Linked DNA regions of Homo sapiens: region 1 is linked to region 2. Evidence: promoter capture Hi-C in human tissues and cell types (Jung and others, 2019). All regions are on one chromosome and are shown on one strand. Each heading gives the region's core, a stretch centred on a gene start or on the middle of the fragment in contact. The rest is flanking DNA. Distances are from core to core; before and after follow the strand shown.

Region 1 (3,107 bases), core at 141-2,640, 40 kb before region 2:
TTTTAGTTCCGTATGAACTTTAAAGTAGTTTTTTCCAATTCTGTGAAGAAAGTCATTGGTAGCTTGATGGGGTTGGCATTGAATCTATAAATTACCTTGGGCAGTATGGCCATTTTCCTGATATTGATTCTTCCTATCCATGAGCATGGAATGTTCTTCCATTTGTTTGTGTCCTCCTTTATTTCATTGAGCAGTGGTTTGTAGTTCTTATTGAAGAGGGCCTTCACATCCCTTGTAAGTTGGATTCCTAGGTATTTTATTCTTTTTATAGCAATTGTGAATGGGAGTTCACTCGGGATTTTGCTCTCTGTTTGTCTGTTATTGGTGTATGGGAATGCTTGTGATTTTTGCATGTTGATTTTGTATCCTGAGACTTTGCTGAAGTTGCTTATCAGCTTAAGGAGATTTTGGGCTGGGACGATGGGGTTTTCTAAATATACAATCATGTCGTCTGCAAACAGGAACAATTTGACTTCCTCTTTTCCTAATTGAATACCCTTTATTTCTTTCTCCTGCCTGATTGCCCTGGCCAGAACTTCCAACACTATGTTGAATAGGAGTGGTGAGAGAGGGCATCACTGTCTTTTGCCAGTTTTCAAAGGGAATGCTTCCAGTTTTTGCCATTCAGTATGATATTGGCTGTGGGTTTGTCATAGATAGCTCTTATTATTTTGAGATACGTCCCACCAATACCTAATTTATTGAGAGTTTTTAGCATGAAGTGTTGTTGAATTTTGTCAAAGGCCTTTTCTGCATCTATTGAGATAATCATGTGGTTTTTGTCTTTGGTTCTGTTTATATGTTGGATTACATTTATTGATTTTTGTATGTTGAACCAGCCTTGCATCCCAGGGATGAAGCCCACTTGATCATGGTGGACAAGCTTTTTGATGTGCTGCTGGATTCAGTTTGCCAGTATTTTATTGAGGATTTTTGCATCAATGTTCATCAGGGATATTGGTCTAAAATTCTCTTTTTTTGTTGTGTCTCTGCCAGGCTTTGGTATCAGGATGATGCTGGCCTCATGAAATGAGTTAGGGAGGATTCCCTCTTTTTCTATTGATTGGAATAGTTTCAGAAGGAATGGTTCCAGCTCCTCTTTGTACCTCTGGTGGGATTCGGCTGTGAATCCATCTGGTAGTGGACTTTTTTTGTTGGTAGGCTATTGATTATTGCCTCAATTTCAGAGCCTGTTATTGGTCTATTCAGAGATTCAACTTCTTTCTGGTTTAGTCTTGGGAGGGTGAATGTGTCGAGGAATTTATCCATTTCTTCTAGGTTTTCTAGTTTATTTGCATAGAGGTGTTTATAGTATTCTCTGATGGTAGTTTGTATTTCTGTGGGATTGGTGGTGATATCCCCTTTATAATTTTTTATTGCATCTATTTGATTCTTGTCTCTTTTCTTCTTTATTAGTCTTGCTAGTGGTCTATCTATTTTGTTGATCTTTTCAGAAAACCAGCTCCTGGATTCATTGATTTTTTGAAGGGTTTTTTGTGTCTCTCTTTCCTTCAGTTCTGCTCTGATCTTAGTTATTTCTTGCCTTCTGCTAGCTTTTGAATGTGTTTGCTCTTGCTTCTCTACTTCTTTTAATTGTGATGTTAGGGTGTCAATTTTAGATCTTTCCTGCTTTCTCTTGTGGGCATTTAGTGCTACAAATTTCCCTCTACACACTGCTTTAAATGTGTCCCAGAGATTCTGGTACATTGCATCTTTGTTCTCATTGGTTTCAAAGAACATCTTTATTTCCGCCTTCATTTCATTATTTACCCAGTAGTCATTTAGGAGCAGGTTGTTCAGTTTCCATGTAGTTGAGCGGTTTTGAGTGAGTTTCTTAATCCCAAGTTCTAATTTGATTGCACTGTGGTCTGAGAGACAGTTTGTTATAATTTCTGTTCTTTTACATTGGCTGAGGAGTCCTTAACTTCCAACTATGTGGTCAATTTTGGAATAAGTGTGATGTGGTGCTGACAAGAATGTATATTCTGTTGATTTGGGGTTGCGATTCTGTAGATGTCTATTAGGTTTGCTTGGTGCAGAGCTGAGTTCAACTCCTGGATATCCTTGTTAACCTTCTGTCTTGTTGATCTGTCTAATATTGACAGTGGGGTGTTAAAGTTTCCCACTATTATTGTGTGGGAGTCTAAGTCTCTCCGTAAGTCTCTAAGGACTTGCTTTATGAATCTGGGTGCTCCTGTATGGGTGCATATATATTTAGGATAGTTAGCTCTTCTTGTTGAATTGATCCCTTTACCATTATGTAATGGCTTTCTTTGTCTCTTTTGATCTTTGTTGGTTTAAAGTCTGTTATATCAGAAACTAGGATTGCAACCCCTGCTTTTTTTTTTTTTTTTTTTTTTTTTTGCTTTCCATTTGCTTGGTAGATCTTCCTGAATTCCTTTATTTTGAGCCTATATCTGTCTCTGTACGTGAGATGGGTCTCCTGAATACAGCACACTGATGGGTCTTAACTCTTTATCCAATTTGCCAGTCTGTGTCTTTTAATTGGAGCATTTAGCCCATTTACATTTAAGGTTAATATTGTTATGTGTGAATTTGATCCTGTCATTATGATGTTAGCTGGTTATTTAGACCATTAGTTGATGCAGTTTCTTCCTAGCATCGATGGTCTTTACAATTTGGCATGTTTTTGCAGTGGCTGGTACCAGTTGTTCCTTTTCATGTTTATTGCTTCCTTCAGGAGCTCTTGTAAGGCAGGCCTCGTGGTGACAAAAATCTCTCAGCATTTGCTTGTCTGTAAAGTATTTTATTTCTCCTTCACTTATGAAGCTTAGTTTGGCTGTGTATGAAATTCTGGGTTGAAAATTTTTTTCTTTAAGAATGTTGAATATTGGCCCCCACTCTCTTCTGGCTTGTAGAGTTTCTGCCGAGAGATCTGCTGTTAGTCTGATGGGCTTCCTTTTGTGAGTAACCCAACCTTTCTCTCTGGCTGCCCTTAACATTTTTTCCTTCATTTCATCCTTGGTGAATCTGACAATTATGTGTCTTGGGGTTGCTCTTCTAAAGGAGTATCTCTGTGGTGTTCTCTGTATTTCCTCAGTTTAAATGTTGGCCTGCCTAACTAGGTTGGGGAAGTTCTCCTGGAT
Region 2 (2,936 bases), core at 227-2,726:
TCAAACCCTATCTTAGTTCAAGCTGCTATAACAAATTACCATAGGCTGGGTGGCTTAAACAACAAACATTTGTCACAATTTTGGTGCCTGAGAAGTCCAAGATCACAGTGCAGGCAGATCCGGTATTTGGCGAGGGCCTCCTTCCTGGCTTGCAGATACCGTCCTCCTGTATCCTCACATGGTAGGAAAAGAGCGAGCTAACTCTCTGGCCTCTTAAAAGGGCACAATCCTACTCATGAAGGCTCTACCCTTTTGAGTTAATTACCTCACAAAAGTCCCACGTTCAAATATCATCACATCGGGGGTTAGAATTCAATGTATGAATTTCAACACATTGAGGGGTTCACTATAACAAATGCACTGTTTCGTTATTTTCCTCTATGCAGTCTATGGAAAGTAACTTTCCTCTCCAGTATTTTTGAGAGGAATGATAATTCAACCTTTCTATTAAGAATAGTTTATGCAGTCAAAATGTTATTTTCTCCAAGAGACAAAGACTTGTTATTTTATCAGTATCCAAATAACTGGCTCACCCAATTACTGGAATAATTTTACATTTCAGAGAAGGTGAAAGAAATTAATATTCATGAGCATTTACTGTGTGGTAGGACTACTGCAAATATTATTTTATTTAACCCTTGCAGCAGTATCTAGGAGTTAGAGCTTATGAGTATCACTGAGGATGCAGAATTAAGACTTAAAGGTTGGGTCTTTTCCAAGGTCATATAGCTAATGAACAGTAGAACTGCAAGAAAAAAGAGAACAGGAATAGGGCAGTCAGACAGCAGTAGGTTGGCCCTAGATGTCACAGGTGGGGGTTTCCAAAGGAAAGATAAATGTCTCTGTAAGAAAAGCATCATTGATTCGTTGCTATTTTATCATCTACAAAACATTCCCTGCCAAATCTTCAGAGGACAATTCTAAAGAAACTTAAAAGGATAATTTATAGTTTGTTCATGTTTACAGCCTAAGAACACATTATTGCCCTGTTTTTATAAATTCATGTTGGCTAAACACATTTAAATATCATTGTGTTTTAGAATATTTATTTCTGAAATTTAACTTTATTTCTGAATCAAGTTCCCCAGTAATACCGACCTCATGAGTGCCACTGTGATATTTTATAAATAATATAGGTAAAACACTTTTTAGGTACGAAGAGACCGGAAGTCCCAGAGCTGAGGCCTGGCTAACTTTGATGAGAAAGGCAGGTTGGGGTATGTTTGTGGAGTGGTGGTTGTGGGGGTAGAGAAGCAGGTTAGCTTAGGGAAAGGGTACCATTTAGTAGACCCTTAGAACCCAGGATTAGGAGCTGTATTTAAAGAGAATAGACACAGTAAACTGCAAGAGATATATTCAAAACCAGTTATAAACTTTCGGAGAAAAAAAGGTAGGAAGGGAGAGGTTGGGGGCTTGGGCGATCCATTGCTTGGAGCTCGGCTTAGCCAGGCTTGGCGGTCCTCAGAGGGGCTGATAAATCGGCGCTCGACTGGCCTAGGAGCTGTCCGCAGGGAGGTGAGGAGAGGGGCCCGGACGCCCGCGGGGAAGGTGGGGACGGGGGCCCGACGCCCGCGGGGAAGTGGGGACCCAGCCGAGCCGTCCGGGCAGCGGTCGATCTCTAGAGCCGTCTGCCGGGCAGGCAGCGGACGGGCGCGGCGAGTTGTTGGTCACCAGGCGTCTCCAGGCCGCCGGCCCGCGCCAGCGCCTCAGCCGCATTTCCAGTCAGAAAGCGGTGAGGCCTGCGGCGCGCTCGGGCGCAGGGCGGGCCCAGCTCCCCGCGAGGTGGGACCGGCTGGGCGTCCGGCCCGCCCCTAAAGTCGGCTGATTGGTGTTCGGTTCCTGTGTCTTGTGTTCCGGTGTGTGGCGCCCCCTGAGCGAGCGCTGGGGGGGACGTACCCATCTGTCTGAGCCGCGGGTTTCACAGCGGTGGGAGGAAACGGGACCCGGGGGGTGGAGTGACGCGCCCCAGCGCCCCGTTCTTGTGCCACTCTCGGGGCCCTAAGGCCTCTGCCTTGGATTTAGGATATTCTCCTTAGGAAATCCACAGAGCTGTTATTTTGCTTTAGGTGCTGATTCGGTCCCCAGCCGGACCCTTCCAGCCAGCCCTGTTGGTGCCTGGGGAGAGGGGGTGAGATCTGGGGCTCCGACAATTGTATGGTCCTTTCCCAGGCCGAGCCTCGGAGTAATTTGTTCCCGTTGATTTTTCCTTCTTTGTCAGATTCTCTGCAGTTATTTGTGACGGTCGGTTATTCCCGTAAATGTTGGTCCCTACTTCTTCCTTAACTCACAAAAATTTCTAGCAAATCAATAATTTTTATCTGAGTTTCTGTACTTTTAAAATAAGGAGTATGTTTCTGAGTAAAAATTGTAAGAAGTAATAGGCCTGCAATTTTATACAATAAGTTTATACAATAATTGTATACAATAATTTTATACAATAAGTAAAGATTACAGAAGACAAAATGGTGAATTGTCATTAATATAACTAAAGATTAATTGTATCTAGTTGTATTAATATTTAACTAGAGATTGTCATTAATATAACTAGAGAAGGTCGGCACCGCAAATTATGTAGACTCAAAAATAGCTTAAGTATTTTAACAGTGATTATAGCAGAGCAGACACTTAAAACTACCTGGGATGATATTGTTTATTGTGTTTGGCAATCTAATTTTGTGCCACGTGCTGAAACTAAAACTTTAATAATAAATAATAGGAACTTAAAAAATCTGAATCTAAACCTAGAACTTTAATTAATTTAAAATAGCATCCCCTCACATCACAAACTCATACTGAACTGTAGCAAGGTCCCTTTTAGGACCTGTGTTTCTTTTTTAAAAAAAGATTTACATAATGAAAGTGCCAAATTCATCATCTTTTAGAACCTTCATGATTTTATTTACATAAATCCTGAACTAGAAAAAAATTTCACATTT

What was found. Contacts are between HindIII fragments. The study calls those that stand out against the background at their distance.
Region 1: a contact is called between a fragment that was not itself captured here and the fragment with the promoter of HFM1 in region 2, in 2 of the 25 tissues and cell types used here (spleen and stomach).

What each region holds. Positions count from the first base shown.
Region 1 is chr1:91,443,418-91,446,524 of GRCh38, reverse strand. No RefSeq gene overlaps it. Among named protein-coding and RNA genes, the nearest start is that of HFM1, 40 kb to the right of the region's middle. The HindIII fragment of the contact is 6,801 bases long and covers 1-3,107 here.
Region 2 is chr1:91,403,377-91,406,312 of GRCh38, reverse strand. HFM1 (helicase for meiosis 1) reads left to right here and starts at 1,476. Exons shown (of 39, transcript NM_001017975.6): 1 at 1,476-1,515. RefSeq lists a silencer at 1,502-1,881. The HindIII fragment of the contact is 20,002 bases long and covers 1-2,936 here.